Linked DNA regions of Homo sapiens: regions 1, 2, 4, 5, 6 and 7 are each linked to region 3. Evidence: promoter capture Hi-C in 16 types of primary human blood cells and fetal thymus (Javierre and others, 2016). All regions are on one chromosome and are shown on one strand. The core of a region is centred on a gene start or on the middle of the fragment in contact, and the rest is flanking DNA. Distances in the headings are between cores, read along the strand shown.

Region 1 (3,681 bases), core at 625-3,124, 470 kb before region 3:
ATGTTGGCCATATGCAGTGGCTCATGCCTGTAATCCCAATACCTTGGGAGGCTGAGGCAGGAGGATCCCTTGAGTCCAGGAGCTTGAGACCAGGCTTGGCAACAGAGATAGACTCCATCTTTGCAAAAATGAATTTAATTTAATTATTTAATTTTTTAAAAAAAGTAAAATGCCATTCACAGTAGCTAGCACTCTAGTTATTGGCCATTGGGAAAAATTCAAATTCGTAATGTACCATTTCTTTAACTTTATTATTATTATTCTCTTCTCTTTATAACTCAGGGAAATGTTTTTCTTTTTAAATTATCATTTATTATAGGTTTATTATTCTTCTACATTTCCCAATCTACATAAGCCTATAAGACAACTAAAAGAGATGCAAAAAAAATTTATCATGTGAAGGCTCAGCATTCAATTTCCTTTCATCTCATAGTACCTTTTACAATAAATCTTGAACATGATGCATTTGCATATTCTCCCTGAACAAGGCAGATAGCTTTTGGAAATTTTAGTTTGATTTAGGAAATACCTAACATGTTTTGCCAACCCTTTGTTCACGTGGGTAAAGGTACATTGTTCATGTTCATTTTCAATTACACTTGGAAATGTAGCCATCATTACTAAACTAAGTGTATTTTAATTTGTACATGTGTGAATCACTATCATGCTCAATATTTCAATTTTAGTTGAGGTTAGCTATTCAATTCATGCAAGTCTTTGTTGAGAACCCTAATTTACACAAACCTAGACATTCATTTTATCTCCAAAAAAACTGTGACAAGGATAATATCACAAAGCTTGTGATTTCTAATTGTAACTGTGCAAGGAGGCTGCTGCTCTATGTGTGTGTAGATTTAAATCCTTAAAAAAATCTTCAATGTCACTTTGAGCTGACAAGTATTTTTTATCTGACCATTCCCTGATAATACAAACACATAACCTTCCAACTGCTATTTAATCTCTCACACTTTAGACATATCTATAAGACAAAGCTTTATGAAGCTTAACTTTCAGATCTATATATTAATAACTCACTTCTTTTCCTTGTACTTCCAATTCACTAGTGAATCATCCCACAGTGCCCTTCAGTATAAGCAATAGGAACAATGGACAGTCTATTTCCCTCTCTGCGCTCCGTGTGATGGGTATGCGGCTCTGTCTCAGCATTTACCAAACAAAGATTTGCCTCCTTTCTTCATCAGACCAGACCTTTCTTGATTATTTTTCCTTTACTTGATCAAAGTGAAGCAAAAATTGTAGGTCATCAAAAAAGAGATCAGTCAAAAAAAACACTGCACTTTCCTCTTAATCTCTATCAAATTCAATGTCAAGTTGTATTTGTTTACTTTTTTAATGTGGTTATTAGAAGATGTAAAATTACCTATGTGGCTCACATTTGTGGCTTGCATTGTATTTCTGTTGGATAGTGCTGATCTAAATCCTACTCATTCTCCCTCAGCCCTGCCCTTTCCTGGAAGGCAGAATCCATTCAACCATTGCAGGGGTCCCCAACCAGTTCATGGCCTCTTAGGAACCAGACTGCACAGCATGATGTGAGTGGCACACAAGTGAGCATTACTGCCTGAGCTCTGCCTCCTGTCAGATCAGCAGAGGCATTAGATTCTCATAGAAATACGCATCCTATTGTGAACTGTGCATGCGAGGGATCTAGGTTGGCACTCCTTATGAGAATCTAATGATAAACGTAATGCTCTTGAATCATCCTGAAACCATCTCCACCACCCCCTCCTCCCACAAGTCCATAGAAAAAATGTCTTCCATGAAAACTATCCCTGGTGCCAAGACCGCTGCCCTATGGAATCCTGAGCTTTAGAATTGGCCTGATCACTCCTGTTGGGCAGAGGACAGAGGAATTGCCCATGGCTTGTAGCCAAGCCTGTGTGGACACAAACCTACCTGGGCAGTGTTCCAGGTAAGGAGATGGGAGTAGCTCTGACCCCTTTATTGATTTCCAAGGGACAGAAACTGTGGCCCCATTATAACATCCCACTACTCTATCAGGAACACAGGGGAGAGCAGCCTTCTTTTTAGAAACACAGGAAGAAGATGAGCATGGTTCCTAAACCAAGAAGGAGGCATAGGTAGGAACTTAGCCAAAGTCACAAATGTTCCTTCTTCACATAGATCTTGTCTTGGAAGGGGACACAGATGTGAATAAACCCAGGCAGAGAATAGTCCATCTCCATTATCCGCTAGTAAAACCCATTTCCATCAGAAACAGAAACGGTCACCTGGTGACGTTAGGAAGCTCAAGACCCCATCAAAAAGGAATTTTCTAAATGTCTTCCATAGAAGACTCACTAACTTCCCAGGCTGAAGAGACCAGCACTGTCACCTGTGAACTGGGCTATAAATATCTTGTGAGGAGAAAATAATGCATCCATTTTTAATGGTTTGCAAAAATACTAATTATCAGGATTACCTGGGGGAGCTTTTCAAAAGCCTGGTCTCCACCCTAAACCCACTCAGTAAGGATCTCTGGAGGTTGGTCAATGTGAACCAATGGCTAGAGCCTGCATGATGCTCACCCTTTCTACTAAGCAAAGAGAAATTCTTACAGGAATGAAATGAGGCCAGCTTCTGTCTCTTGATTCTCTAATGATTTTTTATGTTGTAGGGGAAGAAAAGGGTGGTGTGGGACATTGTGCTAAGAACTAAAATCTGGACACATGTTAGGGAACATGTATACCATAAAATGATTCATGGAATATACTCAGCAAGCTTATAATGTATAATATATCCAAACAATATTTGTTGTTAGATATGTTTAGACATAAGTTCTATGTATTGTTCTCACAGTATTTTAATAATACACTAGTGTGTTATTATGATTCTGTTCTTAAAAATTAATACCTGAGGATGTGGTATTATTGCTGGGAGATAATAGCTCCTTGTTGCAGAGCAGAATTCAAATATAAGGTAGTATGAGCATCTACTGTTCTTATCCATTAGGCTCCCTCTTTCCACCAGGAAAAATGTTCTTTCCTGATCCATGTGATATGGGAGTAAGTGTCAATTATAATTATAGGATCTTTCCTGACATCTGGCCACAAGAGTGAGCAAATGATCCAGTCCTTGGCTTCCCAATTATGATATTCCATACTGCAATTGATCCAAGGATCAAACAAGATCAAACCCCGAAGTAGGGGGTCACACTGTGATATCGAATATATGGATCCTGAGTGACTGTTTTTCTTCTTTCTGAGATTTTGACTTGGGAGAACTTTGAAACCTAGAACTTCTCAGAATCCTTTTCATTTGTTCCCAATTAAGTAGGAGCCATGGTTTAGAGGAACTAGCCCAAAATTCAGCTCCAGGGATGGACACAAAGTTTCATAACTATATTCTCATCTGCCTGGCCACAGTGACCATTTCCATCAGTGTAATGTGCAGGATTTCTATTTGGTGACTAGGGTAAAAGGGAACCCCTCTCTTGTTCTGGACAATATGGTGTATCACTGGGACACCCGAGGCTGCTACAGCCATTTGACTACCTGGGAGAAGTCAGTACAAGAATGTAGTCAACACATGAAGGACAGAGCCAAAAGAAACATAGACACGGAGACAGCCTGGATCAAACCTCTGCCGTGCAACCTCTAGTTATGTAAACCATGTAACTCCTTCATTATTAAAGCCAGTTTAATTACATTTTCTTTATGT
Region 2 (3,988 bases), core at 29-2,528, 280 kb before region 3:
TCCCTATACCAAACGGTCCACTGAAATTATTTGCTCCAACAATTCATTTGCTGAGGATAAATGGGTGCTCTCTTGTCTGCAAAACATAAAGACTTTCATTCAGTCTTTGCTTTAAATTAGTTAAAATCCTATAGAAGAAGTACAGTCATAAATGAATCACAGTTAATAATTAATACAATTTTGGCAAAGTTCCACAAAACTAAAATAGTACTCTCCTTTTGGCCCTGGAAACAAATTTTACTTAAATTTTCAAACATACTAAGACTATAACAATGGTGCGGTTAGTGGGAATCAATAGCTTCCTAGATTTTGTAGTTAAATTTGACCTCAACAAAATGAAAATTATTAAATTATATAGAATTTCTAATAGATTATAAAGTGAACATTTTAATTGTGGCTAAGCCTTAAATTACAAGCATATCAAATAGAGAATAAAAACATAAAGTTCACTGTTATTTGCACTGGTAATATGGACAAAATCTATTAATGCCTAAGACAGGATAGAAATGAAGATTTTTTTAAGTTGCAAACTAACCTCTGTTAAATTCCCGAATTAAGGAGCTCAATCTGATGAATAAAATAGTAACCTAGTCAGTAAATCTAAGTCACATTTGACTTTTGATGAGCTTATGGAAGGTAAACAAACTAGGATATAAGGCACTATAATGGAACTTGGAGGACTAGGGACTTATGTTTTAGTTTTGTTAATTGCTCCATCCTTAACACCTACTATTATTATATGAACTTTCTTATTCACAGGTTTCTTGCCTGTCTCCCAGAGCTCCCTGAGAGTGGATATCCCCAGTACCTGCCACCATGCCTGGCACCTCTCAAGCAGTCAATAAATACTTGTTGAATAAAAGTTTGTAGAAATCCCATAGCTATGTACTATAATGATTACTAGCTTATTGAACATTCCTATGGCAACAGAACGGGCCCTAAGAGGTGAAAGCAAGATTGGAACCCAGATATCTGACTCCTGGAGTACTTGCTCTTAACCAGTACTCCAGGAGTTCAATTCTGTGGGAACACTATCTCCACATAAGGCTTCTGCCTGAACATTGGATTTTACACCCAAATTGGCTTTTCTATTTCAAATCATCAGAGAGGATAAAAATACTTCCCATGAAAAGCTGATGGAACACAGTATACAAATTTAAATAATGGTATGAACCCTAAATATGATGGCTATGTTTCTTTCTTAGAAAACTAAGTTTACAAATATGTCATTAGTCATGTGTGTAAAAAGAGCAGGTAGCAATCATTTTATCCTCACTGACATGAAAAACAGCTCTCACATGATTGGTTTCTCCATGTCAACATTATTTTCCTCTTTTCAGTATCTGAACTTTCAGAATCTCAACAGTAATGATTCAGACAAAGCATTCAAATTAATCAATGCTATCATACTTGTACAGCCAAGTGACCTTTCTCTTCTCCTTGCAAAGTAAACAGTTAGCTTGACTTTTAATACATTCACTTTGAGTTTGCTTCTGATTATGTTGTTTTGCTGGGTTCTGGTTATTCTAGGACACAGTTATTACTGTGCAGACCACTCACTCTCCCTTGAACCTACTTATCAGCCTCCTCCTTGCTCTCATTTCTGCCTCCTTCTTCTCGGTTTCCATCTGTGCTCCATATTTATTCAAGGTAGCATTTAAACCCAAGCATAATATATATGTATGAGTGTATAAATTTATTTAAGGATATTTTAAAAAATTGAAAATAAAGAGGAAAAAACTCAGTAAAGTATAGTATTAAGTACTTAGTATAGTATTAAGTAACTATACTAAAAAATTTCCAGCTATTAAATGAGACTGGAACCCAGATGTGTCTCATCTCAAGACTACATTCTTTCCACTACATCAGTGGTCCCCACAGTGTGATCTTTGGACTGCCAGCAACAGCATCACCAAGGACCTTGTTAAAAATTGCAGACTTTCAGACTCTACACCCACTGGATCTGGGGGTGGGGTTCAGAAATTTTGGGTTTTAATAAGACAAGGGTGATTCTGATACACCCTTAAGTTTTACTGCATTACATCATTGGTCCCAAACTTACCTGATTATAAGAATCACCTGAGATAGCTCATTGACTTAGTATATTCCCAGGTTCTACACATCTGATTCAGTAGGTTAAAGGGGGGAGGCCAGGAATTTATTTTTTTTAACAAATGATACCCTAGGCTCACCCCCAAGTGATTCTTATGGTCAGGAAAATTTGAAAACACTGCACCAAATCAGAATATTCAACTTCATACACTTATGAAAAAAACTAGACATTGCATTTAATTATATGATGGCTCCATGTTAAGAATATAAGGATACTGAAACCGTGTTTTTTCAGCACTTGAATTTTAATTCCATTGTTAGTTCAGAAAAAAAGAGGAAGGGTATTGCAATATAATAGGGAGTCACCACTTTAAATGTGTTAAGAAATATTATTTTACATAAGCAGTTCTAGAGAAGTATATATAATTGAGTTACGTATAAATTGTAGGTAACTGAGAAAAGTCCAACCTCCATTCAAATATACAGAAGTTAATAAAGAAGCTTTATTTGCATAATAAAGGATTTCTTCCTTTAAGAAAAAATTTATCACAATTGTCTTGTATAAATTTGGAGCTCCCCTAGAATAGATAAAACTTGTCTTTTAATGCACAAAATTTATCAGAAAGGATAATCTTTGCCATTTCAAAAAAATAACGTGTAAATGAGACAAATAATTTGAAGGGCAGATTTGGAGCAGTCTGGGGCTTCCTTTGAATTTCACTTTATTTCCTGGAATTAGGCTCCAGAATCTTACCATGTCCTAAACAATTCAAATTTCTGACTAATGAATTGTAGCAGTTCAATGTACTCAGATGAAGAGGAAGGGAGCCGTCATTTATTAAAGTCCAACCACTGCCGTGCTAGACAGGATGGAATACATTTCTTCTCAGTATTGTGTAATGTGTATGGAGGAAAAAGTAAGAATCAACGTACCTATTGACCCTTATAATACATTTGCAGCCAGGCTCAGTGGCTCACACCTGTAATCCCAGCACTTTGGGAGGCTGAGGCAGGCAGATCATGAGGTCAGGAGTTCGAGACCATCCTGGCTGACACGGTGAAACCCCATCTCTACTAAACATACAAAAAATTAGCCAGGTGTGGTGGCACATGCCTGTAATCCCAGCTACTCAGGAGGCTGAGGCAGAAGAATTGCTTGAACCCGGGAGGTGGAAGTTGCAGTAAACCGAGATGGTGCCATTGCACTCCAGCCTGGGCGACAGAGCGAGACTTGTCTCAAAATAATAATAATAATAATGACGATACATTTGCAATGGAGGAATGATTTGATAATTCCTAAATCAGTGCTTCCCATTATCCCAGATCATATACCAATGAAGCCAGCTTCTCTAGTTCCCCTTCCCTCCCTTCCTTCCCCTCTTAGGCAACAGCTGTTCCTCTCCCTGCCCACCCTCCTTCACTGCTGGGGGCCGTTAAAGAGGATTCGAACGGTTAACATCCCTTTATAATGTGTAGGTAGTACAAATCACACTGGAAAACAATATTCACACCTCAAGCATTTCCTAGTGTTCAAGAAACAATAGAAATTGTATCGGTAAGATATAAATGTATTGAAAGTTACTAATTAACAGAGTGCACGTTTTAGATAAAATGTTCACATCTTTATAACACACCCCTACTCCCACCATGATCAGTGGCTTTCAGTAATCATTACTTTCACTCCCACACACTGAGTTCCTAATTATAATTATCTGTAATCTTTTTTTCACGAGCATATGGAACTAGAATTCCACAATGGGATATTTCCATTGCTAATCATTACACTTGGCTGGGTTGATTTGCAGTCCTTACTTCCAATTGGGATTTGTTTACCCCCAAAGTAGCTTATGAGAAAAGTTAAATAGAAAGTTCCATAGAGTTGCTGGCTTATTAGGGTTAATAAATACTTTCAGCTAATAACCACAATATTTAACAC
Region 3 (3,846 bases), core at 1,022-3,521:
TTGCTGTGAGCATGAAAAGATTAAATGATACTGATCATAAAGCATTGTGCCTGAAACAAAGTGAGTACTTGATAAATGGCAGCTATAATAATGATAATCATTACTATAAGTTTATCCAGTTGTAATCATTTTAGCTACCTACTAGAAATACGTATTATTTACAAAGCAGTCTTCTTTCAGCCAGGCATGGTGGCGTGGGCCTGCCTGTGGTCCCAGCTACTCAGAAGGCTGAGGTGGGAGGATCGCTTGAGCCCAGGAGGTCGAGAATTCAGTGAGCGTGATCGCACCACTGCACTCCAGCCTGGGCGACAGAGTGAGCCTTCGTGTCTAAATAATTAGTCAACTGGACGGGCACGGTGGCTCAAGCCTGTAATCCCAACAATTTGAGCGGCCAAGACAGGCAGCTCACTTGAAGTCAGAAGTTCAAGCCTGGCCAACATGGTGAAACCCCGTCTCTACTAAAAATACAAAAATTAGCCGTGGTAGCGGGCGCCTGTAATCCCAGCTACTCGGGAGGCTGAGACAAGGAGAATCGCTTGAATCCGGAAGGCGGAGGTTGCAGTGAGCCGAGATCGCGCCACTGCACTCCAGCCCGGGCGACAGTGCGAGACTCCGTCTCAAAAATAAAAATAATTAGTAAATTAATTCATTAATTTAAGAAAAAAAGCGCAATCTTCTTCCAAAGGCGATCCCAAGGCTGTTGGAGGCTGAAACCGCTAAGTCGCCCCCTACCGCGCGGGTGGCTTCGTCCCGGACCCCTCCAGAGGCTGTGCCACTGCTGGAGGTGCTCAGCGGGGCCGGGACCCGCTTGGGGCGCCGTCCGGGGCGAGCACCGGAGCCCGACTGGGCTGAATGGCAGGTCCTGACCAAGCCACCCGCGCGGCCCCGCCCGCCTGGCGGGATGAGTGACGGCGGCAACAGGTGCAGAGCGGCGTCCGCGGCTTCTCGGGAGCCCCCGAGTTTTGCGAGTCAGGCCCCGAGAGTCAGAGTTTGACTCTAGAACCTTCTTCGCTTTACACCAGTCTTCGGAAGTCGCCCGTCAACCGGCTTCTTCTACCTCAGTAAAGCCTTAAGGTCACCTCAACCTCTCGAAACCCACCAGTCCCAGAGGCCGACTCTTCTCAAGTGGAGGAGAGGGGAAGGCGTGCATGGAGCTTTGCCTGACCGCTCGCTCTCTCCTCCCCAGCCGTCTGAGAGAAGGCGAGAGGGGTCCCAGAACCGAGCCCTCGCTCCGCACGCCCCACGCCCGCCCCGCTGTGCCGTGCGCTCTGCCCCTGAGACGCCCCGGCTCGGAGTCCCAGGGCCACAGCCGAAACTCGCCCTCCCGCGCCCCTCTCCGGCTTGCAGCGCCCGCCCGCACCGCCACCTGCCACCCGAGGCGACGCAGTCCGCTTCTCCCCACCCGCCAGGTGGCAGGTTCAGGGCCGGGGTCCGAGCCTGCTTCCCTGCAGCTGCCACAGCCACCCTCGCCGCCAGGGGGCGAGAGTCCCAGGCAGGACAAGCAGCGCTGCTGCCTTGGCGTGAAGGTGGTTTCAAACTTTAGGCTTCTTTTCCCTACCCCGCGTCTCTGAAGAGCAGAGAGGAAGATGGAAACCGAGTCCGGGCCGGTGAGTACGGCGATCAGGGCCCCAGGGCGCGGGATAGCGGGGAGAAGGAGCAGCGTGGAGCCTGTCCCTGAGGGCTTGGAGGGGCGAGGTGAAGGCCCCAAACGCTCGCTATCTGGTTGGGAAGAAACGTGGCCAGGTGCCCCATCGACCGCTGCCAGGAGCCACCCGCCCGCAGACCTCGTCTGGCTGTGTCATGGGGGTCAGAAAGGCGCCGCCACGGGGCCTGGACTGGGTGTAGACGGGCCAGGGGACCTCAGGCGTGGATGTTTCGGGAGGCGGCGGGCTGCCAGGCACCCAGCGAAGTCCGAGCAGGTAAACCGCTTTCCCGCCGAAATTGGGCTAGGCAGCGTCTTTGACGCTCCCTGCGGCCGAACTCGACCCAGCCGCCCAAGGCGAGGAGTTGCCAGGGCGGTCGACGCCTCCACTCCCCGACTGGTCAGCGAGGACCGGAAGGTCTGAGAGACCTGGCAGGGCCCGCCTGTGGCCCAGGCGGGACCCGGACACTCTAGCCCTGGCTGTGCACCCAAGCCAGTCAGGGTGGACTTGGGGAAGTGAAGGAGGACTGCCCGCACAGGCCCGAGGCGCAGCGGCAACGTGCCATCCCGCCCCGCCCCGTCCCGCCGCCAGCAGCCAATCAGGGAGCGCCGCGCGAGGGTGGGGACCAGCTGCGCACGAGGCCAGCGGCGGGGTCGCTGCCGTTGAGGCTTCCCGCCACTGCTGCTGGCGGATTTGTGGGGCAAAATTTCTCGCTGGCTAGCCTTCTTTTCCCTCCCGCACTTTGGTGGGGAGGGGGTGGATCCTCGTTTCGGTGCCCAAGTTCACGATGACCCGAGAGAACTCGAGGAAGTTGTCGCCGCGGCCATTTCCCCCAGTGCCGCAACTTGCTGGCCTTGGAGGGGGAGGAGCGCCGAGGCAGTGACTGCGACGGTTAGCCCGCCCGTTCCTGCTGTCTTCGTTTGCAAAATAGATGCTAGATCTCGAGGTTGATTCTCAAGGGGAGGGGCCAGTGAGGGCACATTGCTTTGGAGGAGTAGTTTAATAAACTCTCTAGTGCTGGAAGTTTTAGCAAACGGAGGAGCCTTCAAACCCGGCAACAGTCCCCATCTAGGTGTTTCCGTAACACATGCGGAATTATTGCTAGTGGAATTTCAGGCTTTCTTTGTTGTTTAACTCAATGCATCGCTAATTGTTTATAATGAACTTAGATGTTGCCTCCACCTGAGCCTTGCTATTGCTAACATTAAAATATTTTGTAGGCCTGGCGCGATGGCTCCCGCCTGTAATCCCAGCACTTTGGGAGGCCAAGGTGGGCGGATCACGAGGTCAGGAGATCGAGACCATCCTGGCCAAAATGGTGAAAACCCATCTCTACTAATACAAAAAAATTAGCTGGGCGTGGTGGTGCGCACCTGTAGTCTCAGCTACTCAGGAGGCTGAGGCAGGAGAATCTCTTGAACCAGGGAGGCGGAGGTTGCAGTGAGCCGAAATCACGCCACTGCACTCCAGCCTGGCGACAGAGCAAGACTGTCTCAAATATATATATATATATATATATATATATATATATATATATATATATATATATATATATGTATTAGACTGCTGTTATACTGTATTCTTTAGCCTTCAGCCTATTTGGCATATCATGAGCAGGTCTCTCCTGAAGAAATGATTCACTTTTAGTCATTCAACAGATATTTATTGAGCACCTGCTGTGTACTGTCAGTACTTTAGATGCTGCCATGAAAAAAGCAAAACTTCTGCCCTGGTGCATTACATAATAGTGGAGACAGATAATAAACATACTAAGTAAACTATATCGTATGTTAGAAAATGATGAGGGAGAAAACTTAAGCAGAGCGAGCCCACAATAGAGCCTTAGAGAGTGGAGGAGAATGAAGTGAATTGAGTGTGAAAGGTTGTTTTTCTTTTCTCAGGGAGTATCCTTTAGTTTCTCGAGATTGGAAATAAAGCACTGTTTACTTCCGTTCATTTCATCCTTCTCTCAATGAAATATAATGGGGTTTGTCTTTTACTTAAACTTGCGAACATATTAGTACATCTTATTTTCAATAAGAGAATTTCATGAAGAATGATTTTTTAAATTTAGCAAATAGGTAATTTTGACACTGTAAACAAATGGGCAGAAAGACAAGATTACATCTACTAGAGCTGTTATATTATCTCTAGCAATACAAAATCCATAGTTGAAAAATACTAAGCATTCCAGAATTACCCA
Region 4 (4,118 bases), core at 799-3,298, 330 kb before region 3:
TTGTAAAGCAGCTGGCTAAGATTCCAAGTGAGTTGAGGGCTTACTAGGTTGAGCGAGACTAAACTGGCTGCCACTGGAATAAGACCCTCAATTTTGGCTTCATCCCTATTTTGCCCCTCCCAGTTGCGTTCACCAAATGTTTCTGGCATGACTGTTAACCGTAACTGTTTGCCAAAATTCCAACATTATTTTTAAACGTTTAATAGACAAAAAAATTGAAATAAACTTTACAACAAAATGAAAATTGAAGAAGTAAATGTTGCCTAGAGGAGACACAGAATAGATTCTGCTGTAACTCCTCAGTTGATAAAGGACAGATTGTAGGTCTGAACAGTAGAACTGTGGCTGTGGAGGAGGGGGCATGAGGAAGGAATATGAAAGGAGTATAGCCTTTGTAAAGTTTTTGCTAGAGGCATGGCTCTTGAACTTCCTCTGTCCCATCAAGAAATGGCAGCTAGCAATGTCCAGACTAAAAGCCAATGAATAGCAAAGCTGTCCAAGAGAAACAAGAGGAGGCTGGCTGGGCTCTCAGGGGTCCTGGGTCTGGTCTTCTGCTTTGGTATTGTTGTTGTTGTTTTGCTTTGCTTCCGTGATTCCCAATCGTACCTGTCCAAGGACTCAACTGTATCCATTCGCTCAGGGGTGATCAGGCCCTGGGAAGCTGATTCATGCTAACCAAGCTCATAGGAGATGGACAAATAAAAAAGGAAGTTAACTGATTTACTTACAAAGAGAAATGTGACTACTGGGCAGATGGAACTAGTTATACCACTTGGTCAATTCATTCTATTTTCCACTAGAAAAGTGTACCTGGGAAACCAGATTGAGAAAAGAGAGTTGTTTTGTAAATATAGTGTTGTAAATAAATTATTCTCAAGATACACTCTCTCGCTGTAGCTTTCTGCACTAACCACTGACTACTGACAGTAGGCATATTCTGTCAAGGTGATTGAAATATTCATGCTAGATGGGCAGGACACTCACTCCCTTAGATAAGTAAAATAATAAATATAAAACACTTGGTAGGATACTTGATACATAGAAAGTGCTCAGTTAATACAAACCATTACTATTATGGTGCTGTCAGTATTTTGACAATATAGCATAGTGGGATGACAACATGGCCTTTAGAGTTAAATCCTTGCTCCATCACTCACTTCCTGTATGCCAATGGGAAGGTTCTTAACCTCCTGAGCCTCATTTCCCCTATCTGTAAAATGGGTATAATAAGAGTAAATTTACAGGGTTATCCTTAAAAGTAATTAAAATGTTGTGTAAAAATCACTTGATTATTGTAAGCACTGAATGTTCATTTTTAATAATAAAAATAACAAACACTCATATAGCATGTGCCAGATACTGCTTTATATATATTTACTCATTTAGTCCACATTATAAGGGGTAGTTGAAGAACTTGTCACTGGTAGATTGTATTTACCAATATCTGCTCCTCTTCCCTGAGAAGGTTTACATTTGTCCTACTCCATGAAATCAGACTTGACTGTGGCTTGCTTTGACCAGTCAAATGTGAGTGGAAGGGACATGTGACTCTACTGGGCAGAAGCTTTTAAAGACCATTTTTGCATCCCTACCTCTGGGATTGTAGAAGTATTTGCTGGGATGGAGTCCCCATTAGCCTGTGTTCCTGAGTGACCATTACTTACCTGTGATGGACATGTAGTACAAGCAAGAAATAAGCCATTGTGTTATATTGTAGTAGATTTTCAGATTTTTGTTACTATAGCACAACCCAGCATACCCCAACTGATACAAGAGCATAGAGACAAAACAAAATTTTCCCAAAGACACAGAGCTAGGAAGTGTCTGGCTGCAGCGTCTGTACACTTAATCACTTTGCCTGCTGTTTCTCAATAATTGATAGTATAATAATATCAATATTAAGGATGGTTTATTATTAATGCATTATTGTTGTTGTTTGGAGGTCTGTTTCTACACTTTGTAAATATACTTTTTTTTCTGAATACTCAAAAGGAATCCTAGCCTTTCTCTAGATTCTACAGCAACAACAGCTGGCAGATGCCAGAGACACCACTGGAAAAGTTCTCAATAGACAATGTGGATGATACTGGGCATGTTCCTTCTTTATATACCCTCAGGCAGCCCCCAAAGGCATGGTCACTATGTCTGTTGGAAGAGCCTGGTTTGAACATTCACACTAACAGCCCCCTCTCCACAGTATCTCATAGAATGATTTTAAATATCTATGGCCAGTAAGTGAAGGGTAGCCCACTTCTCACTCTCACTCAGCTTTCAGAGATGGATGCCTCTCCTCATACTTCTTTTCCCATTAGCCCATCATCTGTTTCCTTTCTTTTGTCTCTCAACAATGAACAGAGACTTCAAATGTGTTTTCAGGCTCTAATTGAAAGCGTATTTCTACACTGACATCCATGTAATTTCCTCTGTTGTAGCAAGATTCCCCAGAACTGTAAGGTCCTGAAATTCGGGAATTCAGTGAGGGAATCTGCCTGGGTTAGAAACATAACTACACACGGAGAAGTGAGAAGCTTCAATCTCTGCTCTTCCCACGGAAATTGAAAATGTTTTAGATAAAAGCAGAAGGAGCAAAGGCTTAAGTAGTGATAAAAAGCAAAAGCGTTATGGGGAAAAGTAATAGTCACATATACTAAACATAAATTTATAAAAGCAGCCCAGAATCATGGCACACATTGGAATGCATTAAATTATAAGTTGGAAATCTATCCAGGAAAAGTGTAAATACATATTTAATAGGAATGACCATTGAAGAGGTAATAGTTATATTCATTTTTTATTTATTGCCTGTTATTCAACAAGTAATCAATGAAAGTCATGAATAAATAAGAAGGGCAGCTACTTCTTAACCCTTTTATTTCTCTTTAAGCTCTAGTGATTACCTACTTCATAGTTTTTCCTTTGTAATAAAATATTTATTAATTATATTTCTTTAATATTATTTTTATATATCTCTACTTGATACTTCTCCAGCCTGCTAAAATTGATTTTTACATAAAACTTTTAAAAACACAAAGTAATAAAATTTAGTTTCTTAAAATAGCCAACAGGACAAGTTAGAAAAATATATATTGGGAAAGCTCACTAAAATGCTCCCCTTGGGTTCTTTCTAATTTCAGTTTTATAGATGTGATCACCTTTACAATGCAGTTCTTTTTGTACTTAAAAAGTCAAATCACTCTGGATAGAGTTCAAGACTTTAGATGAATTCCACTTCATTGCAAATAGCATTTTATCAGTGATATAGTGTAATTCCACATCTTGCTCCCAAGAGATCTTCAGAACTCTCATGAGTGAAACACTTCCAAAATTACTAACAATGTACTAGAATATGTTGGCTACGTAAGTGAAGTTGTAGTATCCCTTTCTGAAAGCCTTAAAAAACAGGAAAAATTTCCATTTTGAGATTTTAATATTATGTTAACAACCAAATGTCTATAGTTTGAATGTTTGTGTCCCTTCCAAAATTCATGTTGGAACTTAATCCCCAATGCAATAATATCAAGAGGTAAGGCCTTTAGGAGGTGATTAGTGCCCTGTAAAAGGGCTGGAGGGAACTAGCTAGGCCCTTTTACCTTCTTTTGCCTTTCTTTCCCTTCAGCCATTTGAGGAGACACCGTTCCTCCCCTCTGAAAGACGAAGCAAGAAGTCACCATCTTGGAAGAAGAGACTGTGCTCTCACCAGACACTAAATCCACTCCTGCCTTGATCTTGGATTTCTCAGCCCCAAGAACTGTGAGAAATAAATTTCTGTTGTTTATAAATTACCCAGTCTCAGGTATTTTATTATATCAGCACAAGAAGGACATCATGGAGAAGAAACAGAGGGAAAGGTCTTTTAACATGTGAGGGTGGAATGGAATGGAGTTATTTTGATCCAGTGATTGTCTTGAAAAGGTAGTGAGGACTGAATCATCCTATCATCCTAAATAAACACAATGGCTATGTAAGGAGACCAATTTCATGTACAATAGTGAAAAAGAAAGAAAGGAAGAGCAAATTGACTGCTACAGTTGGATATAGACATATGGCAAAAGTATGGAAAAATGCAAAAGATACGCTAAACAAGTCCCTATACTGGACCCACGTAGGTGCTAGAATAT
Region 5 (4,241 bases), core at 938-3,437, 490 kb before region 3:
AGCTGGAAGTTGAAACTTTTCAACTGTGAGCAGAAAAATGTGCTAAATGACTTTTCAGTCGAGGGGTTTTAAAAACTGGTATTTTCACACGGCTATGCCTGCACAGCATATAGCTCGCTAGTGAAATTAATAGTTTCTAAGAGCTCTAAAACAAAACAAGTTAGAAGTAACATTATTGGGAAGTTAATTTCTGATTTGTTCTCAAGGAAAAAGCAGCTCACTTCATTATAATCTTCTGCAATATGAGACCAGAAGTGGGATTTTATTTTTCCTGTATTTACTTGGAATTCCAAAATAAACCATATCATAGTTTTCAACTAGGCCTAGCTCATTAAGTATATTTCACCTTTCTATGAGTAACAGCAGTTCCTCTTCAAAGAGCTCATACTAAGTAATTATGTTCTTAATGAGTCAAAAGCAAAAGTTATTTTAGTCTTAAATATATATATGTAAATTGCTTTTAAAACCATCTGATTTAGAATTTTAGACTAAATATTTGAAAAGATAAGAGATGATTGTATATTTTTAAAACTACTAAACTGATATTTTTACTTTCTATAAAAATATAATGTGAAAATCATAGACTTTGTGGTTTACTTTAGCCAAAGTATAGGAGAGCTATTGAAGACATCATATTTTAGGAAAGCACTTTACATATATATTTTTTCACACCCATTTGTTCACCCAAGGAGCATTTTGCATTTTGGCATCAATGTCACATTGAACAAGAAAAGCTAGTTGCTTCAAAGCACAAATTAAATGGCCATATAAATGTCCAGAATTGTCCTTTACAGGTTTTCCAATGAAAGTAATAATAATTGCATTTGGTTCTTATTAAGGCCATGCAAATGCTGTATTCCACTGTGCCTCAAACTTTTAAGTGTGTGTGAACGTTCTGGGGACCAACATGTAGCAATTACATGGATTAGGCCTGGCACAGGGCCTGAGAATGTGCATTTCTAACAACGCTTCAGGATATATTGTCCACCACAGTCTATGAAATGCTGTACTTTACTATCTAAAATTTGTACATGTTTTGACATAGAAGATGTTCACCATCAATTGTTAAGTAAAGAAAGCAGATTTCTAATAGTATATATTGTAGGATACCATTTAGGAAGAGAAGAAAAGCATTTCTTATATGCCAAGAAGAGAAGGTAAAAACTATTTAAAACAACAGCCAGTCAGAACTATTTCTGCCCACCAGAGGAATGGCATGGTTTCTCTCTAGCCTGAAATACCCGTTGTTTAGGAAAGATGCCTAAGCAGGCTTGGGTGTAGCAACCGAGACGCTCCAGAAAATGGTCTGGAAAGAACCATCAAAATAGACCAAACATTGAATTGTTCCCGACAAGGACAGTCACAGGATCTGGAGCAGGAGGAGGGCTGAGTGAAGAGAATCGTTAGCTGAGAGAGAGAGAGAGAGAGAGAGAGAGAGAGAGAGAGAGAGAGAGAGAGAGAGAGAGAGAGAGAGAGAGAGAGAGAGACAGAGACAGAGAGACAGAGAGACAGAGAGACAGAGAGACAGAGACAGACAGAGACTGCCCAGCCCAGTGATGCAGCAGGTGGCTTTCACTCTTGTATAGCAAGACATCCTCAGGATGAAGTAGCTAAAGGAATTTTGAAAATGGAGATGTGTTGCAGCCATGCTGTGTTCTTCTGTAACATTTTCCAGCCCCCGACTCTACTCCTGGCAAAGGGAATCTCAGGATCAAGTACTAGGAGCTGTGTTCCATGTCTGCATCTGCACAAGATACTAGACACAAGGGAGATCAAGACAGCGGTAGAAGCAGTAAATTGAAGCAAGATGTGACCAGGAAAACTGTTTGCCCAATTTCCAAGAATCCCTGGGGATATGGTGAGGAATAAAAAGTTTTCCAATGTAAAGGAGGTCCTGGGGTGAATTACATGTAAAATTCCCAGAACAGAATGACTCCCACCAGTTATAGGACTTGGAGTCATTTAAGCAATTGATATTTATGTGATGCAGACAAAGAAAACACTGGGAAAAATAGACACCAAAGTGATAACTTTGTTTTCTTTGAGTGGTGGGATTGTGGATGATTTTTTTTTTTGCTTACCTACATTATCTAATTTAGGAAATAAAATGCATTCCTTCAAAATAAAAGTATTTTTAAATCTCACCCCCTCCCCCAATGATGCCACATTCCAGCAGAAATGATATTCAAGCTGAGATGTGAAGAATAAAAAGTGTTATCTGAGTTAAAAGTGGGAATGTCTGGGAGAGGTTTCCATGTGCCAAGGCCCTAGGACAGGGAAGAGCTAGTTGCAAGGAAAGAATGGAGCAGTTCGAGTGGGGTGAAAAAGAGCTGATGACCCCAGCTGAGACTACACCAGCAGTCATGGGAGGAGCACAGAGAGCCTCAGAGGCTGGAAAAGCAGTGTGATTATATTCTTACTGCAATGGCAAACAATCAAAAGATTTTAAGCAGGTAGTGACATGATCTGATTCATATTTTTTAAATATCAGGGTAGGAGAAGAGATGGAAGTGAGAAAGCTGGGGAAGAGTGGAGCCCAGGAAGTTAGATAAGAGCCCTTTGCAGCTCCCAGGCAAAAGGGAACAATGGAGTTAGTGCCAGTGATGGAGTTAGAATTGACAGGTTTTGGAGACACATGGGCTAGGAAACAGAAAATTAAAAAGCAAACAAGCAAGCAAAAATCAAACACATACACACACATAAAAACAGTCTCCAAGGTTCAGCACTTGAGCAAGTAAGTGGTGGAGGTACCCTTTTCTGAGATGGAGACCTGGGAGAAATGGGTGTTAAAAGAAACAGCAAAAGTTCAGTTTTAGAAATATTGAGTTTGAGGTGCCTGTAAAATAGCTAAGGAAAGATAATTGGTAGAAGATTTGATAAATAAGTCATGGATGAGCTGGAAACCACTGGTCTCTAAGTAAGGAGCATATATAATTTACCATCAAAACTAGGACACTTCTGAGAGAAAAAGGATATGCTATTAAGAATTTTGCTGAGACAACAGGCATAACTATGGGAGAGTATTAAGGGAAAAGAGAAAGAGACCTAGAACTGACCTCTGATAAATTCCATTATTTATCATTAGGTGGTAAGTGAAGAAGAAAGAGCTCAAATTGCCCAAACATAGTTTGGAAATTAAATCCCCAGTGCAACAGAGTTGCAAGGTAAGACCTTTAAGAGGTGATTAGATCATGAGGGTTCTGCCCTCATGAATGGATTAATACCATTATTGTGGAAGTGGGTTAGTTATCATGGGAGTGTTTTCCTAATTAAATGAGGAGTTCAGCTCTCTTCTCCACCCTCTCTCATGCCAGTGCTCTCTTGTCCTTCCACCTTCCCACCATGGGATGAGACAGCAAGAAGGCCCTCATCAGATGCCAGCACCTTGATATTAAACTTCCCAGCCTTCAAAACTATGAGAAATAAATCTATTTTCTTTATAAATTACCCAGTTTGTGGTACTCTGTTACAGCAACACACAATGGACTAAGACAAAAGGAATGCTCAACTGCATCAAATATGGTTAGCAGCTCTAATAAGACTGCTGAAAAACGTTCATTGGATTTGGCAATATGGAAATAATTGATAATCTCAGCAAAGGTAGTTTGGAAGAAGATAACGAGTTGAAGAGTGAATACAAACTGAGGAAGTAGAGACAGTAGAGGCAGTTATGTACCACTCTTAGAAGAGTCTGGAAAGGAGAATATAGTTATCTAACAGTAGTGGCAAGGGAATATGAGACAAGGATAGGGACAAGTGAATTTAGTATAAGAGACACTAGAGACTGAAAGATTATAAAAAAGATCCAGAAAAACTTTCTAGTAGAATAAGTCTACCGGAATGTTCATAGAAGTATTGTTTACAGGAGCCAAAACCTGGAAGTAAACCAAGTATCCATCAACAGAAGAGAAGATGAATACACTATGGCATATTTATGCAGTGGAATATTATACAGAAGATGGATGAACTGTAGTAACACAGAAATGTGGATCAATCTTGGAAATATATTTAAAAAGTAAATCCCAAGCAATTACATACCTTATTATGCTCAAAAATAAACTTTTAAGATTCTAAATAAATGCAATAAAACTATGTAAAATCAGAAAAAGGAATTGATGAACAAGGAATTTTAGGTGATGGTCATCTCATGTCAGAGATGCAGGGTGATGACAAGATGGAGTGGATCCTGGAACCTGGGGTTCAGATGAAGATCATTGCAGGTTTCCAGGTTGTGTTTCATG
Region 6 (4,290 bases), core at 1,051-3,550, 360 kb before region 3:
TAAACTTCTTTTCTTTGTAAATTACACAATCTGTGGCATTCTATTACAGCAGCAGAAAACAGACTAACTTGTTTTTCTCATGTTTCTTGTCCTTGGAATTTTTGAGACACTTGGATCTGGAGGTTATAGTTTTCATTACAAATGAGAAATTTTTAGCCATTATTTCTTCAAATTATTTTTCTTTCCTGCTCTTCTCTCCAGTTTCATACATATTAGATTCTTGAAGCTATTTCACTATTCTCTAATACCCTGTTCATTGTTTAAATTCTTTTTATTTCTCCTTTTATAACCCTTTTACTGAGATAATTTACATACCATAAAATTCACTCTTTAAAATATACAATTAAATAGCTTTTAGTACATTCACAAATTATGTAAACAAACATCATCATTATTTCTAATTCCAGAACATTTTCATCACACCAATAAGAAAACTCATACCCATTAGCAGTCACTCCCAGACCCCCACAGCCACTGGCAACCATTAGTCTACTTTCTATCTCTACTGATTTGCCTATTCTGGATATTTTATAAAAATGGAACGGTACAACATGTGGCCTTTGTGCCTGATTTCCTTCACTTAGAATAATGCTTTCAAGGTATACTCTTGTAGCATGTATCAGTACTTCATTTCTTTTATTGTTGAACAATCCAATGTATGAATATGTAATTTTTATTTATCCTTTCATGAGTTGATAGACATTTGGATTGTTTCTACTTTTGACTATTATAAAAAATGCTGCCACAAACATTTGTGTACAAGCTTTTGTGTGGACATATATTTTCATTTCTCTTGGGTAGAAATCTAAGAGTAGAATTGCTGGGTCATATGGTAACTCCATGTTTTTTTAACCTTTTGAGGAAGTGCCAAGCTGTTTTCCAAAGCAGCTGAAATATTTTACATTTCCACCAGCAGGGTAGGATGGTTCCAATTTCTCCACATCCTCACTAACACTTGTTATTATCTGTCTTTTTTATTATAGCCAACCTATTTGGTGTGAAGTCATATCTAATTGTGGCTATGATTTATGTGATCTTAGTGGTTAACGATCTTCAGCACGTTTCTATGTGCTTATTTCCTGTTTGCATATTTTCTTGGAAGAAAAGTCTATTCCAATCCTTTGACCAGTTTTTAAAAATTTGGTTTTCTTTTTATTAAGTTGTAATAGTTCTTTATAAATTTTGGTTGCCAGTCTCTATCAGATATATGACCTGCAAACCTGTTCTGTGGGTTCTATTTTCACTTTCTTGGTAGTATCCTTTGGAGTACAAAAGTTTTTACTTTTAATTAGATTATTTAGAGTCAATGAACATATTAATATGCATCCAATCTCATTAGAGATTAAAGATAAAGAGAAATAAGATTTTTGTAACTTAGAAGATTGGCAAAGATGAAAATAAGAAAAATTAAATTTATCATTAGCAAAGATTTAAGCACTCTCATAAACTCCTGGTGGGGTTTTAAATTGAACAAGTTTTCCTGAGACTATTTGGCAATGTATCTCAAAATCCCTAAAAAACAAAAATGAAACAAAACAAAAAATCTCTGTATCCTTTGACCCAACAATTCCACTTCTAGAAATGTATCCCAAAGAAAAAGTTGAACAACTTTGCAAAAATGGATTTTATTATTGGAATGTTTATATAACAAGAAATTAGGTGAGTAAAATCTAGCAATAGGAGATTGGTTAAATATATTCTGGTAAGCCATATAATAAGATACTGTATAATTATTATAAATGACCATTAATTTTTTTTTATTTTTTAAAGACAAGGTCTTACTATGTTTCCCAGGCTAGTCTCAATTCCCAGCCTCAAGCAATTCTCTCATTTTGGCCTCTCAATAAATGATAATTTTCATCAAGTTTCACCACCTATCATGTCCTTAAGGTCCAGATGTAACATAAATGAATGAAAAGGCTCTCTAGAAAATTGGACAGCATATGCCCCTTTTGGAGAGGGCAGTTTCAATTAACTGATGCCAAGCAAGAAAGTATATGTGTGGTGGTTGTGAGGTGGGGAGTGGGAGGTGTTCTGTGTTGTTAGATTATCCAGTATTTTAAAACATGCAGGACATTGAATTGTACGTAACATTTTCTGAATTTCAAAAGCTGTCTATTGCTTAAAGATTTTTTTAAAAAATGTTCAATGGCCAAATAAAACACATCATTTTTGGACTAGATTCAGTTCAAATGCTTGGAACTCTAATGTAAATACACATTTATTGACACAGAAAGATATCCATAACATATTGTTAAAATTTTAAACACCCTGCTACAAACAGTTTATATAATATCTCAATTTTGTTAAAATACAAGCATATTTACATATATGTATAAACTCTAAACAGTGTCTAAAGGGATATAAATCAAAATGTTATTAGTGGGTAATTTTGCTTTTCTGTTGTATATAGTTCTCTATTTTTGTATTTTTATATTGACCATTAATATTTTATATTCAGAAAATAAATGATACAGTTCTTTGTATCTGTGGTTATAAAGGTAAGAGTTAATAGTCTGGTTTAAAATGTTAAGAATAAACTTAAAATCAAAATCACTAAGTATATAATCTTGCACATGAAATCAGACAGACCCAAGTTCAAAATCAATTATTCCATTAATTACCTCAGTGGCTTTGGGCTTTCTCACCTGTAAAATGCCAGTGATAATACCCGCCATCTCCACCTCAGATCCTATTGGTGATGTAAAAATGAATAAATAAAAATAGAATTAATATCTAAAACACTACATTCCTAGCATCACCAAATCTAAGTAGATAGAAGAGAGAAGGGGGCTTTTTCTACCACAGTTCAAGTCTAGAAAGGAGACAGATGCTCCTCATAGAATGTAACAATGTCATGGAGGCATAATACACAAAAAAAAATTGTTTGTTTTTGCTATTCTATCTGGAGGCAGGAACATCACAGGAGACTAGGAGACTTTTCCCTTGCCACCTCCACTCCCAGAATCCAAAGCTCCTCCCTGCTCCACATCTCACTCCCCATCTAGCAAGGACACCCAGTGGAATGAAGCAGAGTATGGCTGACAACCCACTGCCAGAAATAGCATCAGATGAGGCAGAATCCATATTACGTTTTTGAGAATTTTTGGGTGGGTCCTAAGTGTGAGTAGAGCTCTGGGACAAATAAAATAAACTAGAGAAGCTACTTCCAAGGATTGGATTTGACCCTGGAGTAAATAAATGTATAAATATTGTTTGAGAGTTTGTCATCCTTTATCTCCTCTTCCCACCTAACTGTATATCCAGTAAAGACATGGATTTACCAAATAGAATTCAAGTAGATGAAGAGGTACACTAGTAAAATCAACCAATCAGCTGATGTAAGGTGGGTTTTGTTTCTGTCTATAGAACCTCTTTTTCACCACAAAGGGCTTAACACCTGCATTCCACTATTCCTCCTACCAGCAAGTTAAATATAACAGAGGGTAAAGAAATTTTTTCAGGCCATTGTAGCATCATTGGAAACTTGCCTTCAAATGACTTCAGGTACCTCCTCCTCGAGTGCCCAGTTTTAAACCCAGGGAATAATTTCATCATATCTGGTCCATGGAAATAGCAAACTCTTTAAGATATTTTTGATGTAGTAACCCATTTTCATTAGCTTTGCTTTTTCAATTCACAATAAAAGAAAACAATAAGTGTTTTTTTCATATCTTTACTCTTTCAGTAATGTGCAACATAAACATAATAGTGTTAAGAAGTCAGAAATAACACAGAAGCTATAGGAGATGTTTATATTTGCAAAATTTCAACAATTATCTTCTCTAGGTTTCCCCAAATTAGCATATTTGTTAATCAAATTAATTAAGAAGCTTTTCAAAATAAAAGCAATGCTTTAAATAAATATATTCTTTCATAACCATAGAACATTTAGTTCTGTTGGAGGTAACAAACATTACACTCAAGTACTTTATGAAGACATTAGGGTAAAAATTACCTAGATGCAATTATAAATGTACCCTAATTAGTCATTTCTTTTTGCATGTATGCTTTTCTGTGTGTGTTAGGGTTATATCATAGATGTGTGGTAACTGGTTAGCTCTTAAATTATCACAAAGATATTATCGGACCCACAGAATTTATATCAGCTCAATGTGATGATATGATATTGTTTGAACAATATCTTTAAATTTAAATTTAGTACCCTAAATTACATCCAAACAAAGCCAACACCTCTAAGCTGCCATATCTGTTATAGAAAATGAGTGCTAGACTCTCAGCTTGGAAGAATGAGACCTTCCTACAAATCTCGAAATTATACAACAATAT
Region 7 (4,287 bases), core at 1,242-3,741, 340 kb before region 3:
TCAGTAGCTGACCAGTGACCTATGAGATGTCCTGATGCCAGGCAGTAATGACAGCAATTAGACAAACCAATTGGATTAACTCTTTCTGAGACTGAAACTGAAAAATTCTAAGAGTCTTAGTTGGTTGTGAACAGAATGAAGTGCTAGAAAATATAGAGAGGAATAAAAGACCAGCAGAGCTGAGCCCCTGTAAGCCCACAGCACTAGAGTGAAAATCTACAATTCTTGCTCTTAAGGCAAGGAAAGGGGAAATGGAAAAGGAAAAGATAACACAGTCCTCTAAAGCCTGCTTCAAATGTGAAGGATCTTCTAGCCTGAGATTCCATGAGGCTGCCCATTCAGTGGCTCCTCTTCTTTCTAGGAGATGTGTTCCCTGCATCGTCACATGCAGTCTCACTTCAAGAAGCCTGAATGAGTCCCGTTTTATTTTAAATGAGAAATGACAGGCTTGCTACAATTTTAACCACACCATTTGATTGCTTGATAACCAAGGCAAAATAGAGTTTAAACCATGTCCTGGCTAAGGCTTTCAAGCTTCTTGCAGAGAAAACCAGAATCAGTCAAAAGGATAGAAAGAATAGGGGTTATGGCTGATGTCTGCAGTGGGAAGAATGATTAATAAGTTATGAATTGACTTTGTGACTTTGGAAATGTCCCTAACTCCTGTGGGCAGCAGTTTCCTTTTCTCCAAAACATGGGGATTTGACGAGACGTTCTTTGATTTGACCTCATATGCTAAATGTCTACTGTTTATTAATTGGGGCTCAGGTTAAAATTGCTATGTTAAAATTCATCACCTAATTGCTTACAATAATAGAGACTGTCTCGTGAAAGATAAAAAAGCAATTAAAGTGCTATGATAGTGGAATAGCAGAGTTCTGTGGGAATACGTACAGGGATACCTAACTCTGTTGAAGATGGGAGGCAGGAGAAGGTGAGGTGTCCATGAAGGCATCCTGAAGACTCCGTACCTGAGCAAACACCTGAAGTACAGATAACAGTGCCCCATGCAGTGTGAAAACAACAGGATGGGGGCTCCCAGGGAGCAGGGGTACAAGCAGGGTTACACACTTTCAAGGAAGAAGGGACAGTCCATGTGACTACTCAGCATGAAAGCATCCCTGGTGCCACTGAGGAAGTGGAGAAAGTTCCATGTGGCTGGAGTAGTGCATGGAAGAAGAAGGCAATGAGAGACGAAGCTGGAGGGGAAGGAGGGGAGCTGAGAAGACAGGCCACAATGAGTTTCAGAAGAGAAGTTAAGAAGGAGCTGTGGGAAGCCCTGGAAGGGCTTTAGGAAGGGAGAATGGCCATGACCAGCTTTACATTCAAAAAGATCACTCCAGCTCTATGCTATGGAGTGGGAAAAGGATAGAGGAGAAATGACTTTTCACTAACTCAGGTGATAAATGAAGATAACTAAGGTGACGGCTATGGGAATGGAAGTTTCCTAGGGAGGTATTAAGGAGGTTGACCCAACGGTGCTTGCTAACCAATTAGAGGTGGAGAGTTAAGAAAAGGATCAAGGATAACCCCCAGGATTTAGGTTTGGATAACTCTGAGTTGTCATTTATTCATTCAAGCAGGAATTCCAGAGGTGTCACTGAGGATAAGCAGGACATATGGATAGGGATAAGCACAGCTGGAGACATGCCGACCTTGCTGTGGCTGAGTGACCTCCCAGGTACAATGCCTGGGAGGTAATTTGATATATAAACTATATGGGAGGATGAGCAGGGATCATCAAGAGATAAAGAGAGTGACACCTGGGCCAAAAATACACACTTGAGATTTGACAGCATGGTGAAGATAATCAAAACCCTTTGCATGAACTGTGTCCCCCAGGGACAGAAGGTGGAGTGAGAAGATAGCCTAAGCTAGAACCCTAAGAAATACCAGCATTTAACAGAATAGCAGAGGAAAGGGAACCTGCAAACGATTCTGGGAAGAAAGAGTCAGAGATGTAGGAAGAAGAGAGAAGGGGGTGGTGTCCCAGAAATCAAGAGAAGCAGTGTTGCAAGAAGTGGGGAGTCAGCCTGGGAAATATCACAATATTCTATCTCTACAAAACATAAAATTAGCAGGGTGTGGTGGCATGTGCATGTAGTCCCAGCTACTTGGGAGGCTGAAGCAGGAGGATTGCTTGAGCCCAGCAGGTTGAGGCTGCAGTGAGCCATGATCATGCCACCACAGTCCAGCCTGGGTGACAGAGCAAGACCCTGTCTCAAAAAAATTAAAAAAAATAAAAAGTAGGGAGTGCTTAGCCACGTAGAATGTTCCCAACTAGTCAAAAAAGATAAAAACTGGAAAAGTGTCCATGAGATTTTGTGACAAGGTGGTTATTGGTGACCTTGGTGAGAATGATTTAATGGAGTGTCGGGGAAGAAGAAAGATTAAAGTTGGCTAAGAAGTGAGTGGGAGGTAAGGAAGTGGATTCGGCAAGTATAAACAACCCTGTTAAGAAGTTTGACTATGTAGGCGAGGAGATAGAAAGAGGAAGGAGATGAGCTGAAGGAGGGCTGAAAGTCCTTTAGAAAAGCCCGTTTGTATACATATTGTTGATGAAAAAAGCAAGCCAAATTCTGTAAAATATTTGAAGAGATTTATTCTGAGCCAAATGTGAGGACCATGACCTGTGACACAGCCTCAGGAGGTCCTGAGAACATGTGGCCAAGGAGGTTGGGTTACAGTTTGATATTTTAAATTTTAGGAGGACATAAGACATCAATCATGGTTTGGTAGGGAAAGGCAGAACAACTCGAAGCAGGAGACTTACAGGTCATAGGTGGATTCAAAGATTTTTCTGATTGGCAATTGGTTGAAGGGTTTAAGTTATTATCTAAAAAACCTGGAATCAATAGAAAGGAGTGTCTGGGCAAAGATAAGGGGTGTTGTTGGAGACCAACGGTCTTATTATGTAGATGAAGTCTTATAGGTGGCCATCCTTAGAGGCAATAGATGGCAAATGCTTCCTATTCATACCTTTAAAAGGTACCAGACTCTCAGCTAAACTCTTCAGGATCAGAAAAAGACCTGGAAAGGGAAGGGGCTTCTCTAAAGGAGGTAAATTTCCCCCACAAGAGATAGCTTTGCAGGGCCATTTAAAAATATGTCAAAGAAATATATTTTGGGGTAAAATACTTGATTTTTCTCAGGGCCTGCTATCTGTCATGTGATGCTATACTGGAGTCAGGTTGGAATTTGGTATCTTATTGCTACAAAGAGCCTACTGTGTCTTAAGATCTCTGTTTTAATTTTAAGGCCGATCAGTTCAGCCTGAATTCCAAAGGGAGGAAAGTATAATGCAGCGTATCCAATTCCCTTTTACCATTGAAACTGCCTTTGCAAAATTATGACTGAGACAGTGAAAGAGATCCAACTTAAATGACTCCATCTTGCCTCTAACCTCCAAGCTGGGCATAGGCTGAACTAACTTTGGGAAGAACTTATAGTTTATGGTTTAAAACAAGAACAATAACATCCCTTTCCTAAAATAAACCTCCTTCTTGACTACTAACAGTAGCCACAAGATTAGAAATTATGGTTTAGGAGTCATGCAGCTGGAGGCTACAAGATTCTGACCCTCCCTAAACTGCTCCTAAGATCAGTACTTGAGAAGTTTTGCAGACCCTGCACTTGACGGATCAACTGGCACCACCATATCAAGAAATTGGCCCATCTGATCCTGTGATGCCCACCCAGGAACGGACTAAGCGCAAGAAGACAGTAACGCCCCATGATTTCCTCTCCATAATTTCATCTCCGACCCAGCCAATCAGCAGTCCCTGACTCACTGCCCCTCCCCTCCCACAAATTGTCTTTAAAAACTCTGATCCTGGGGAGACAGATTGGAGCAATAATAAAACTCCAGATTCCCGCACAGCTGGCTCTGTGCGAATTATTCTTTCTCTATTGCGATTCCCCTGTCTAGATGAATCAGCTCTTTCTAGGTAGCATGAAAGGTGAACCCAACTGGGTGGTTACACCATCAGGTTCCCATCATGGCCTGAACTAGCTTTTTGGAATTTTTTGGAATCCCCTTGTCCCCATAGGACAGGTCCATTCAGTCGGTTAAGGGGCTTAGAATTTTATTTTTGGTTTACAATATAAATGCAGTTAGGCTGAACTACGAATGAAAGGAAAAAGACAAAATACAAAATGGAATGACTAAAAGCCTCTACTTCTAGTACTGATCGTTGTTCAAATTTGTGTTTCATAGCATCCTAATTTTTTTCTCCTTATTTTAGAGCCGCTTTATTTGTGTGAAGTGAGAAATTTACTCAGCAAAAT

Evidence for each region. Contacts are between HindIII fragments. The CHiCAGO score rates a contact against its expected background, and 5 or more counts as called.
Region 1: a contact is called between a fragment that was not itself captured here and the fragment with the promoter of BOLL in region 3, in 1 of 17 cell types (M0 macrophages). The highest score is 5.6, in M0 macrophages.
Region 2: a fragment that was not itself captured here is called in contact with the fragment with the promoter of BOLL in region 3 in 5 of 17 cell types (activated CD4 T cells, non-activated CD4 T cells, neutrophils and 2 more); the score reaches 7.0 in activated CD4 T cells.
Region 4: a fragment that was not itself captured here is called in contact with the fragment with the promoter of BOLL in region 3 in 2 of 17 cell types (activated CD4 T cells and non-activated CD4 T cells); the score reaches 6.0 in activated CD4 T cells.
Region 5: a fragment that was not itself captured here is called in contact with the fragment with the promoter of BOLL in region 3 in 5 of 17 cell types (M1 macrophages, naive CD4 T cells, fetal thymus and 2 more); the score reaches 8.7 in M1 macrophages.
Region 6: a contact is called between a fragment that was not itself captured here and the fragment with the promoter of BOLL in region 3, in 6 of 17 cell types (neutrophils, activated CD4 T cells, naive CD4 T cells and 3 more). The highest score is 8.8, in neutrophils.
Region 7: a contact is called between a fragment that was not itself captured here and the fragment with the promoter of BOLL in region 3, in 15 of 17 cell types (activated CD4 T cells, megakaryocytes, monocytes and 12 more). The highest score is 12.2, in activated CD4 T cells.

Annotation. Positions count from the first base shown.
Region 1 is chr2:198,257,135-198,260,815 of GRCh38, reverse strand. No RefSeq gene overlaps it. Among named protein-coding and RNA genes, the nearest start is that of LINC01923, 120 kb to the left of the region's middle. The HindIII fragment of the contact is 1,740 bases long and covers 1,005-2,744 here.
Region 2 is chr2:198,060,921-198,064,908 of GRCh38, reverse strand. The region is part of intron 1 of PLCL1 (phospholipase C like 1 (inactive)); the gene reads right to left. Among named protein-coding and RNA genes, the nearest start is that of PLCL1, 260 kb to the right of the region's middle. The HindIII fragment of the contact is 2,555 bases long and covers 1-2,555 here.
Region 3 is chr2:197,783,744-197,787,589 of GRCh38, reverse strand. BOLL (boule RNA binding protein) reads left to right here and starts at 2,271. Exons shown (of 11, transcript NM_033030.6): 1 at 2,271-2,534. RefSeq lists an enhancer at 866-1,095. The HindIII fragment of the contact is 5,410 bases long and covers 1-3,846 here.
Region 4 is chr2:198,108,769-198,112,886 of GRCh38, reverse strand. All of the region lies in intron 5 of PLCL1 (phospholipase C like 1 (inactive)), which reads right to left. Among named protein-coding and RNA genes, the nearest start is that of LINC01923, 260 kb to the left of the region's middle. The HindIII fragment of the contact is 964 bases long and covers 1,567-2,530 here.
Region 5 is chr2:198,274,878-198,279,118 of GRCh38, reverse strand. No RefSeq gene overlaps it. Among named protein-coding and RNA genes, the nearest start is that of LINC01923, 98 kb to the left of the region's middle. The HindIII fragment of the contact is 5,349 bases long and covers 1-4,241 here.
Region 6 is chr2:198,147,777-198,152,066 of GRCh38, reverse strand. It overlaps PLCL1 (phospholipase C like 1 (inactive)), which reads right to left. Exons shown (of 6, transcript NM_006226.4): 6 at 2,204-4,290. Among named protein-coding and RNA genes, the nearest start is that of LINC01923, 230 kb to the left of the region's middle. The HindIII fragment of the contact is 3,070 bases long and covers 766-3,835 here.
Region 7 is chr2:198,127,949-198,132,235 of GRCh38, reverse strand. The region is part of intron 5 of PLCL1 (phospholipase C like 1 (inactive)); the gene reads right to left. Among named protein-coding and RNA genes, the nearest start is that of LINC01923, 250 kb to the left of the region's middle. The HindIII fragment of the contact is 3,910 bases long and covers 537-4,287 here.